Regions from separate parts of the Homo sapiens genome. Here all the other regions are linked to region 3. The links are contacts of gene promoters, found by promoter capture Hi-C in blood cells and fetal thymus (Javierre and others, 2016). All regions are on one chromosome and are shown on one strand. The core of a region is centred on a gene start or on the middle of the fragment in contact, and the rest is flanking DNA. Distances in the headings are between cores, read along the strand shown.

Evidence for each region. The method cuts DNA at HindIII sites, captures the fragments that hold promoters and counts their contacts. A CHiCAGO score of 5 or more calls a contact.
Region 1: a contact is called between a fragment that was not itself captured here and the fragment with the promoter of CDK7 in region 3, in 1 of 17 cell types (activated CD4 T cells). The highest score is 5.7, in activated CD4 T cells.
Region 2: a contact is called between a fragment that was not itself captured here and the fragment with the promoter of CDK7 in region 3, in 1 of 17 cell types (non-activated CD4 T cells). The highest score is 7.0, in non-activated CD4 T cells.
Region 4: a contact is called between a fragment that was not itself captured here and the fragment with the promoter of CDK7 in region 3, in 2 of 17 cell types (non-activated CD4 T cells and neutrophils). The highest score is 6.3, in non-activated CD4 T cells.

What each region holds. Positions count from the first base shown.
Region 1 is chr5:72,305,104-72,307,816 of GRCh38, forward strand. The region is part of intron 2 of MRPS27 (mitochondrial ribosomal protein S27); the gene reads right to left. Among named protein-coding and RNA genes, the nearest start is that of MRPS27, 14 kb to the right of the region's middle. The HindIII fragment of the contact is 2,782 bases long and covers 73-2,713 here.
Region 2 is chr5:65,651,707-65,654,743 of GRCh38, forward strand. TRAPPC13 (trafficking protein particle complex subunit 13) reads left to right here. Exons shown (of 13, transcript NM_024941.4): 7 at 795-839. Among named protein-coding and RNA genes, the nearest start is that of TRAPPC13, 28 kb to the left of the region's middle. The HindIII fragment of the contact is 671 bases long and covers 1,245-1,915 here.
Region 3 is chr5:69,233,471-69,236,395 of GRCh38, forward strand. CDK7 (cyclin dependent kinase 7) reads left to right here and starts at 1,416. Exons shown (of 12, transcript NM_001799.4): 1 at 1,416-1,571; 2 at 1,924-1,983. The coding sequence starts at 1,506. RefSeq lists an enhancer at 1,138-1,666. The HindIII fragment of the contact is 18,686 bases long and covers 845-2,925 here.
Region 4 is chr5:66,147,469-66,150,298 of GRCh38, forward strand. All of the region lies in intron 1 of SREK1 (splicing regulatory glutamic acid and lysine rich protein 1), which reads left to right. Among named protein-coding and RNA genes, the nearest start is that of SREK1, 4.6 kb to the left of the region's middle. The HindIII fragment of the contact is 2,439 bases long and covers 285-2,723 here.

The DNA of each region.
Region 1 (2,713 bases), core at 214-2,713, 3.1 Mb after region 3:
GACTTCCTTCTATTTGTCTGTCACCAGAAGCTTTAACATAAATAAATCCAATAAAGGAAAAACATGAAATCAAGCTTTGTGTACATATATATTAATGAGACTAAAGAACGGTGATGTGCACAAGTCAGACCCATCTCTAGAACTTGGCAAATATGGAAACTGGAAAATGAATAGATGCCACAGAGATGCAAATACAGAACTGACAAAAGTTAAGAAAGCAGACTTCAGAAAATCTCCATCAGGCCTCAAGAGCAGGATCTGAAATATTCATGCAAAAAGCCAAAGGCCTCTACAGCTGAAATGACACAGCAAAACTAAATCTCAGCTAAAATGGAAGAAGTGTCTGTAAGAGACAGACCTGAATGCAAATGTGTCAAGGAAATACTCTTTGGATTCAAAAAGGAGGTTCTCCAAAAACAAACCAACAGAAAACAAACCAACAAACCAAGAGAAACCAACACAAACAAGCAAAACAGTAACCCAAACCAAAATGTGTCCTATACTTTGTGATGTGAAAAATCACAAATAAAATATTTAATCCAGTAGGGCTCATGAATCCTGAATTCAGCTCAAGTCACCTGAGTGCTCGCTCCTTGTCAGAAAGACTCAAGAAAACTTCCTCTCATGGAACTCAAGGAGCTTCCCCATGAGGCCTGCCCTCCTACCAACACCCTACCCAGTTCCCCAGTGGTTTTCTCCTGAGTCCTGTTCACAGTGGATCCTATTCTGTTAACTAGTAAATGTTGATAACTTTTACCCTGTACCTCCCCAACAAATCAGCAAGTTAGTGGAGGAATTCCAGAGACAATGCTTTAACTCAGTGTTTATTTTAGCCAAAGGGAAGCCCAGTACAGAAACAATCAAAAGTTGAAATCTGATTGAAGTAGGAAAGCCCAGGGCTCTACAGAGCACAGTTGAACTATGGCCCTATCAATAAAAGTATCAACAGCAATGGATTAAAATGTCTCAATTATTTAAATCTATGAGTTCTTAATGACATTTTAAGAAGTCCTCATTCATCATTTTTGCAAGTTATTTTGAAAGCTAACTCATATACAAACTATTTCAGGGTAAGTAAACTGTTGATGAATGGAAGTTCTGTCATAAAAATTTCCTAGATAATAAATGAAAAGAAATGATAAAATTTAAACAGCAATAGTATGCAGCTTCAAATGAAATAACAAATCTAAGTAAAGATCATGAATGGCCTTTAACTTCGCAGAGGGGCAATCAAATGCTGTGTGCTTACTGACACAAGTAAACACTTACTATGAAGTATTTATACCAAAAGACAAAATAAAAAGTCCTGAATCTGATCAAGCCCCTTTCTCCAACTACCAGTTTCACAAGACATATGGAAGGCAGAGGAGCACGCTAAACACCACAATAAGGATGAAATCAGCAAATCTAGAATGTGGGAAACTCCAAAAAAGACCTGTTTTGTTCAATAAATAAATTGCAAAAAACTTACAAACTAAGATAGTTGAGACAACTCAACACATTGCAAGGTATGGACCTTATCTAGATCACATTTCAACAAACTAAATTAAAAAGAAATTTATAAGACATTTGGGAAAATGTGAACATTAATGGAATATTTAATATTACAGAAGTACTAGTTTTTTAGAATAGTATGATTAATTACGTTTTTAAAAATCCTTATCTTTTAGAGGTACATATCAAAGTACATATAAAAAAACCCCGATAATTAAGTTTGTTAAAAAGTAATCTGGTGAACAGGTGGGGAGTTGATGAAACAACACTGGTAGGGAATTGATAATTGCTGGAGCTGGGTGACAGTACACAGGGGTTTATTCTACTCTCTCTACTTCTGTATGTTTCTATTAAAAAGATTCAGAAAGAGTTAACGGGGGCACATAGCAACCAATTGTATTATACGAGGCTTTATTTGAATCCTGATTCAACCAAATCATAAAAAAAAAAATTTGAGAGTATCAGGGATACCTGAGCCAGGAGCGGTGGCTCACGCCTGTAATCCCAGCACTTGGGGAGGCCGAGGTGGGCGGATCACGAGGTCACGAGTTCGAGACCAGCATGACCAAAAAGGCAAGACCCCATCTCTGCTAAAAATACAAAAATTAGCCGGGCATGGTGGCGGGCGCCTGTAATCCCAGCTTCTCGGGAGGCTGAGGCAGGAGAATCGCTTGAACCTGGGAGGAGGAGGTTTAAGCGAGCTGAGATCGTGCCATTGCACTCCAACCTGGGCGACAAGAGCAAGGCTCTAAGAAAATAAAATAAAATAAGAAAGAGAGTATCAGGGATATCTGAACACTAACTGGATATTTCGTGATATTTACAACCCTATTAATATTTTAGGTGTGATAATGGTATTGAAAAGCACCCTTGTCTTTTGGAGATCTGTATCAAAATATTTACGGATGAAATGACTTACTGCCTGGGATCTCCTTCAAAATTATCCAAAGCATCGGGATGGGGAAACAGTAATAAAGATAAAATAAAGACTAAGAGCTGATAATTGTTGAAGCCAGGTGATGGGTAAAGGGGGCTCCTTATACCAAGGTGTCTACACCTTCAAATGTTAAAACACTAAAAAAAAAAAATCTGTGGCGTTAGAAGTCAGGATACCGGTTACCTTTGGAGAGACTAAGTGGGGGCCGCAATAAGGGCTTCTGGAGCGGTAGGAATGCTCTTGCTTCCTACACAGGTTTACTCGCTTTGTGGTAATTCATCA
Region 2 (3,037 bases), core at 330-2,829, 3.6 Mb before region 3:
ATGATACTGTATATGGTTTTTTTCATTCCTTTGTAAGTGGAAGAAAAAATACTATTCATAGGGAAAAAAAATCTGCCATTCTTTTGCTGAATCATTCATTTGTATGCTTTTTGAAAGAAAATAAAACGTGATTCAGTTTTTTTTTTTTTTTTTTTTTTTTTTTTTTTTTTTTTTGAGATGGCGTTTCACTCTTGTCGCCTAGGCTGGAGTGCAATGACGCGATCTCAGCTCACTGCAGCCTCCGCCTTGTGGGTGCAAGCGATTCTCCTGCCTCAGCCTCCCGAGTAGCTGGGATTACAGGCACCCGCCACCACGCCCAGTTAATTTTTGTATTTTTAGTACAGACGGGGTTTTGCCATGTTGGCCAGGCTTGTCTCGACTCCTGACCTCAGGTGATCCGCCTGCCTTGGCCTCTAAAAGTGCTGGGATTACAGGAGTGAGCCACTGCACCCAGCTCAGTTGCTTTTTTTTGCAAACAGTTTTTGTGAATATAGATATAGAAAAATACATAAAATGTATGTGTTTGGTTTAACAAAATATTATGGAGCAAAAACCCATGTAATGTAATTATCACCCAGTCAAGAAATAATGGTAGCCTCTCAAAAAATACATTAGGGATTCTTTTTTCTTTTCTTTTTTTTTTTTTTTTTGGAAGAATATTGCATACCTATTAGAAAAGTCTTTTAACAATTAAAATTGGAAAATGACTGACAAACTTACACTATTTGATTTAAATAAATAAATAAATGGTCACATGATAACAATCTCCTGATTGATATGCTTTATTTAACCAGGTTCTCAAACCATTGGATGTGAAAACCAAATTTTACAATGCAGAGGTAAGTGTTGAGTGTTTAATGGGATTTCATATTAAACATTAAGATCGTATTTGACTAAAAATCTCTTATATACATTTCTAATACTGAAGCAAATCGCCAACGTGACTGTAAATTATTTGAAAAAATCACAAATTTCAGTTAAAATTGAATAATTTTATTATAGGTCTCATAATCTTTTTCAGCTTACATGGAATCAATGTGTCTTGATTTTTATTCTCGTTAATTTTATAAGGCTTTCATCTCCTTTCGTTAAATGATTGCCCTCTCATTCCATTTAATGGTGGTTGTTACACTAGCAATCTGTTGAATATTTACATGTGGTTCGGGATTTTACAAAAATTGAATTAGTAGATCTAACGCTGCAAAATAGATTTAATATTCACATGGAAAAATACTGACAAGTGAAGCTTAGCACATTAAATTATTTCCAGGGTAGTCAGTTTGCCAGCCAGAATTAGGTTGCTGAGTTTGGTGTAATGGCTTTAAAAGCTCCTTGGGAAAAACAAATTTGGCAAAAAGAGAAGTAACTTATAATAGAAGATACTCTATCTTTTACCCTAAAAAAAAAGAGATAAAATAGAACTTGCCCAAAAAAAAAAAAGAACTTGCCATAGGAGAAAGGATTTATTGCTTGGATTTCTTTTCTAAGATTCTGTTTTATCTTGGCTTCTAGAGCTGCAGAAAAATCAGATCTCTTGCTAGCCCTCTTATGCCCCAAAATCTTGTGTTTCATACCAGTGATAAATTCAAAGATATCCAAATACAGTATTTTGAAATGAAGATTATATCTCTGCTACTCTAAAACCAGATAATGATCAGACATTTTTAATCACATGGCAAATTCGGTATTTATTTTTACCATCCACAATCTGAATTTTTACTCAGTAAAATTTATACTATAACTAGGATTTCTAAGATGTCAAAGTTAAGGAACCTAACCTGCAGCAAAGACCTATTAGGAGAAAAGAAAAAATGCATGTAATAACAAAACTACCTAGAATGGAATATAGTGAGAATGATACGAAAAGATGTGCTGCAAGAGCTCTCGGGAATGTGATCTTGGAATAGTTTAAAGAAGCTTTATGGAAGAGAAGGAAAACTGGATTGGAGTCTGAAAGGAATGCAGGTTGGAAACAAGTGTCAAAGCAGTGAAGGCATTCAAGCAGGGTTACAAATGGACATGAAGTATCAAGTACATAGGAAAGAGCATACCTATTTGACGAGAGGGAAAAGCATCATCAAGATTACTAGATGTTTACAAAGTTGATGTTTCTTTTGTGGGGGATAGGTGAGTTGGAGTAATACGCATTTATTCCCTCTTTTTTGTTATTAATACCACACTGTTGATTAATTACAGTATAGCTAGTCAGCATGGTGAGATTTAAATAGTCTAATTTTTGCTGGAAAAGATTTCATTTATAGTATGAGGGGAAAATGTTAACTATTCTGTTAGAAAATTAATTTAAAATAGGGCAATAGGTGGGTTATTTTCTGTAACTGGCTCCTAGGAGTCACATATTCAGTTATTTTAGGTTTTCTTCATTAAAAATATGGTAGTACACTAAGATACCTGTAAATTAGTTTTATAACGCTAATATTCAGAGTGATTTGTGAATAATTTTAAAAATTGCTAGTTTTTCTATAAACATTATAGAAGTGACATGCTCTCCATAAAGAAATAAAAATTCACAATTCCACCACACCAATTGATTTTTCATTATACATACTCTTTTGCAGTCTTTATTCACTTATATATAATATTCTATTTTTATAATCACGACAATTTTGTTTGCTTCCTTTGTCAGTTAACATTATATGTTGACATAATCTTTAAATCTTGCTAACAAACTTCAATCAAAATAATTTCAGTAATATTCTGAACTTTTGAAAATAGATCTCACTTTAAAAATCAGGAGTGAACAAATAGCATTTTGGGTCTCTCTAAGATACTTAATATTACCTATTAGACAAACAAATACTGTTCAGCCACTAGCATGAGGCAGATTATGTTGACCCCAACCAGGAATTTCAGGTAGATTGTAGGAGTTAATAAACCACAGTAATATCAGTAAGTGATGCTTATTGCTCTGTGCTGTAGTCCTTTTACAGTTAATATTATTGGCCCCACATCTGTCTCAAACATATATTTTGATACTGTTTCTAATAATGCTGTAATATGTGAATCACCTAAAGGAAAA
Region 3 (2,925 bases), core at 166-2,665:
GAGATTGAGACCAGCCTGGCCAACAAGGTGAAACCCCGTCTCTACTAAAAATACAAAAATTAGCTGGGTGTGGTGGAGCAGGCCAGTAATCCCAGCTAATCGGGAAGCTGAGGCAGGAGAATCGCTTGAACCCAGGAGGCAGAGGTTGCAGTGAGCTCAGATCGGGCCAGCGTACTCCAGCCTGAGCAACAGAGTGAGACTGTCTCAAAAACAAACAAACAAACAAAGGCAGGGGGAGGGGGGCACATTTCCATGTTGACAGCTGCTCTGGCTCAGAAACTTTTAATTATCCACTAGTAGAGCCATCTGGATTACTGCAATAGTTCTCTAATAGGCCTTCTTTCTTTTTCTTGTCCCTCAAAATCTATAATATAGTCTCCCAACAGCAAGAGTGAACCTTTTAAAAGTGAGTCAGGTCATATCACTTGTCTGCTCCAATCCCTCCAGTGGGTTTTCAGTGATGACTTTCTTGTACCACCCTATTTAAAACCTCCATCCCTGCCCCTGCCCTGATTTGTTATCCTTTATCTGCTTTATTATCTCTATAGCACTTATCACCTATGTATCATAACACATATTTGACTTGTTTTTTTATCTCCTCCCATTGGAAGGCAGGGATCTTTGCTCCCTGCTATCTCAGATTCTACAATGGTGCTTGGCACATAGATAACACTCAATATCAGCATCCTAAGAGAGAGAAAAATGAAAAAGGAAAAGCACTCAATATGTTTTTGAATAAATGAATTAGTGTGTTTGTTATGACAATTTATGATAATCAAGGGGTTGGGTACTCATTACTGCTAAGTTAATTGAGCACTGTCTCAATTAATTGAGTTAATGTCTAAGCTTTCTGCATGTTTCATTTAATACCCACAATCTCCTGTGATGTAGTTCATTATTTTTTCCATTTTACCGAGTAGAAAACTGAGGACTAGAAGCTGATTCCCACAGCACGTTTCAGTTGAGTTGGATTTTGTTTTCCTGGGCCTGCTTCTTCATAAAGGGACTGGACTAAGAATACTCTTGACCAGCCCGTAAGAACTTGGCACTCGTCTCAGTAATCTGAGATAGCAGGGTTTGGCGTCCATAGCAACCACGGCGACAGGACGCGCTCGAGCAAGAACCAAAAAGCGAGAACAGGTACAAGGCCAAACTTTCTACATTCACAGACACCTACCAAACCCCGAACATGGAACACCAAATTAGAACGCTGACCAGTTCCTGGTAATGTAGAAAACACCCAAGTTAAAACGGCAACAGAGTGACACAGCAGCCATTGAAGATGCCCCACTTCAGGCACCGACAGGCGTCACGTGACGGGTGGGGAACGCCAACCGCCTGGGCCTAGCGCAGCTTCCTCCGCCCACCACGGAAGTGAGGCGGGGATACTAAAGCGACGGAGCCCGGTGGACGGAAGTGGGTGTTGGAGGCTTTAAGGTAGCTTTAAATTCGTGTTGTCCTGGGAGCTCGCCCTTTTCGGCTGGAGTCGGGCTTTACGGCGCCGGATGGCTCTGGACGTGAAGTCTCGGGCAAAGCGTTATGAGAAGCTGGACTTCCTTGGGGAGGGACAGGTGAGGCTCTCTGGAAGGACGGGGAGGGCCCCAAGCGGACAGCCCCGCGCCGCCTCCACCTTTGCGGGTTTTCCCGTGGAGGCCAGAGGTCTGGCTTGGCTGCTCGTTCTCGTTGGGGGAAACCGTCCAGACGCACTTGCTGCCCATTCTTTACATCCTGGGGGTGAATCCCTGAGGGGCCTCTCCTTGCTGAAGAGTAGCCTGGAGCTGGACGGAGACTGACCCGCCACGTTTCCAGCCGCCGCGAGTCTGCTCAGGAACTCTGGGCTCTTTGCTTCGCGAAATGTAAAAATGCAAAAAGGCAAACACAAAAACTCCCATAAACTTATGTTATTTCTATTTTTCTTTCTAGTTTGCCACCGTTTACAAGGCCAGAGATAAGAACACCAACCAAATTGTCGCCATTAAGAAAGTGAGTTACCTTTTTATGTTGTTTTTAAGTCTCCTTGAAGATGTCTGTATTATTAATTGACTGATAGCCATTTTATTAGTCTTGACCATACTCTGATAATGAGTTACTCATGTCATTTTCAGAGACAAAATAATTAATTAGTGCTTTGTGTTCCCAAACGGAACTCTAGGGTTGAACCCGTTTTAATTTCTATTGAAATGAAGAAGAAGCTGTATGTTATTTTTACTGCATAAATTCATATGTTGTGGGCAAGTACTGCCCATCTTTTCGGTCCTCAGAACTATTGGATACCATGATCTTTCTAGGTCACTGTTTATACCTCACCTGCATCCACTCAGTGTGTCGTATCTGTATTTTCTGTGTACGGATTTACCATGAAAGACTTTCACTAGCATGAACAACATTGATGTGAGGTCTAAAATGAGTTCAGTAGCTTCTTATATTCATTCAAAAGACCTGGGTCGGATTCAGTAGCTTCTTATATTCATTCAAAAGACTTGGGTCGGGCCAGCCGCGGTGGCTCACGCCTGTAATCCCAGCACTTTGGGAGGCCGAGGTGGGCGGATCACTTGGGGTCAAGAGATCCAGACCATCCTGGCCAACATGGTGAAACCCTGTCTCTACTAAAAATACAAATATTAGCTGGGTGTGGTGGCACCTGTCTGTAATCCCAGCTACTCGGGAGGCTGAGGCAGGAGAATCACTTGAACCTGGGAGGTGGAGGTTGTAATGAGCCGAGATGGTGCCACTGTGCTCCAGCCTGGTGACAGAGGGAGACTCCATCTTAAAAAAAAAAAAAAAAAGATTTGGGTCATAATTACATAACTCACGTTCACCTACATTGTTTCTTTTAACCTTCAAAACAATCTATAAAGTGGTTAAAAGTAACCCTATTTTATACTTGAGGTACCTGAGACTGAGTGACTAGGTGACTTGTCAAGA
Region 4 (2,830 bases), core at 254-2,753, 3.1 Mb before region 3:
AGTCAGGATTATCTGCACCCTGTAAGTTCCCCGTGACCCCCTTCAAGTAACTAAAACCTGAAGGGTAAGCCTACCCTGATTTGTAACACTAGACATTTTTCCTGTGTTGATTTTTTTTGCTTGTTGATTTCCGTCACTTCTCTGGTCTTCTAAAGTTCTAAGAAAGAATGGAAAAATCTGTCAACTACTTAAGTTTATTTAGTTAAAAAAAATGTAACCACTAAAGCCACTTTATAGAAAATAGAGAAAAGGAAACAGCACTTGTGATCCCACCACTCTATCAAAGCTTCTCTCCATTTCCCTGTAGTCCTTTTCACATGCGTTAATAAATATTGGACATATTACCTCATTGGTTTTAAAAATAATTGTATAGTGCTATCATTATGTAATATATGTAATATAGCGTAATCAAAGGAATCACACTGTTATTTTACTTTTTTCACTTTGTCATAAGCATTTTCCATATTGCTGTCTTATTTATAGTAATATTTAGAGATTAGTAATTTCTGAGTGTATTGTGTGTTTTTGAAATTCTATTGTTGGATATTTTGATTGCTTTTTTTGGTATTACAAATTAGTGGATTTTAGCTAGAAATTGGGAGGTGTGTCTTTTTGATTGTCAACAATGATTAGAGGGCCTGTTGGCATTTAGTGGGTAAATGTTAGCAACTTATAAGTAGTCTTAAACAGGATGAATTGTGCTAATCCATAGGGCCACTGAAGCCCAGTGAAGAAACCCTGTTATAAATAATGCACCAACTAATATTTTTGTACATGATACTGTATGCTTCGCTCATGTTTTGGCATATCTTTTTTGGTAGGTCCTCTGTCCTCTAAAGGATGTGTATTAATGTACTGATAAAATACTGGACATATTATTACCTCATTGGTTTTAAAAATATTGTATAGTGCTATCATTATGTTTAATAAAAGACAAAATAACCAGTTAGGGCCAAGAAATTTAATTGATGCCCAAAAAGTTGGTTCTTTGGTTTCTGCGTGTACTACCCACTGAAAAGTTTTAATTTTTTTTGAAAAATTGATAAGATTTTGTATTTTAAAAAACCAAAACTTTAAGTCAACGAATGAGGTCAAACTAAAATCTGCTAAATTTGGGTACTGCTATTTTCTTCTTAAAATTTATTTCTAAAATTTTATTTATTTATTTAGTTAAGTAGAGACAGGATTTCACCATGTTGCGCAGGCTGGACTCAAACTCCTGGGCTTAAGCAGTCCGCCTGCTTTGGCATCCTAAAGTGCTGGGGTGACAGATGTGAGCCACTGTGCCTGGCCTGCTAGTTTCTATAGATGCATACATTTAGACCAAATGGAATATGTCATCCCTTTTTATGTGTTTTTTTTTCCCCCAAGGTCTTCTTCTGTTGCCCAGGCTGGTCTTGAACTCTTGGGCACAAGCAAGTACACATTTGTTTGATGAGCTATCTGTTTGTTGGCTTGCTACTCTAATAATTTTAGTTTATAATGGTCAAAATAAAATAGTGTTACCTTGCCTGAAATTTTCAAATATTTGCATTTTTATAAAGTAAATGTAAGTTGGTCTTTATTTTAAGGAAGGTAATTGGAAATGAAGATTAAGAAAATTGGCCGGGTGCAGTGGCCCACGCCTGTAATCCCAGCGCTTTGGGAAGCCGAGGCAGGCGGATCACGAGGTCAGGAGTTCGAGACCTGTCTGGCCAACATAGTGAAATCTTGTTTCTACTAAAAATACAAAAAATTAGCTGGGTGTGGTGGTGTGCACCTGTTATCCCAGCTACTTGGGAGGCGGCAGGAGAATCGCATGAACCCGGGAGGCGGAGGTTGCAGTGAGCCGGGATCCCGCCATTGCACTCCAGCTCGGGTGACAGTGTGAAACTCTGTCTCAAAAAAAAAAGGAAAAGAAAAGAAAAGAAAATTGCTTAAATCAGTGGAGTAGCCGTACCTAATATCCATACTTCCATGATGATGCTGTTCAGAACAGACCAACATTTTTTTAACCAGTTCCCAGGCTTCTGAAATGTTGGTGGCATGTCTTCAGATGTAGTTGCATTACAAACCAGACTCAGAATTCCTATTCCTGTGGATGTTTTAAGTTTGAAATGAAGTAGATTTCAACTAGGGGTATTTGGAAATGTGGTTTTAGTTTTCAGTAGTGCTTACTTAACATTTACATTCCTTCACAAAAGGATCCGTCAGTTTAGGAAATGTTGCTTCAGAGATGACTGTCAGGCTCTTGAAGATTTCAGAGGCAAAAGAGTTATTCCTGTTGGAATTGCTAGGGCTTTAGTAGGTTATTATAATCACAGATTGTTTTTGGTTAAAAAGGACAGAAACAGTGTTACCCAAGGTACATCGAGAAGAGACATTATTATTAAAAAGAAAGATTTCACTGCGTTGAAAAATAAAGATTGTAGTACAGCCAGGCCTCATGGGAACTAGTACTGGGAACCAGAAGGGTATCAGCAATCAAGATGACTATCTGCTTCTTTCTCTGCAGTGGTTATTATCAGTTCAGTTTGTTTCTATCTACTCCATTTCTTTGCATACCTATTATGTACTCATCATCTGGCTTACAGCTTGCTGTAAGTCACCTTCCAGCCCAATAGAGAGAACCTGATTGATTGATCTAGCTCATTTGGTCGAGCCTGACTTCCAAAATTAGAGGTTGCTGGTCAGCCAGGGAAATGGGCCCTTGAGACTGGTGACTAATCATTTATGGCTAGAGAAGCTTATAGGATCTTTTGAGGGTTTCACATGAGGAAACCGTGCTAAGGCCTGTGCCAAAGCAATATAGAATGTCTTGGTAGCACATGTAGGAGGCTGTACCTAATGA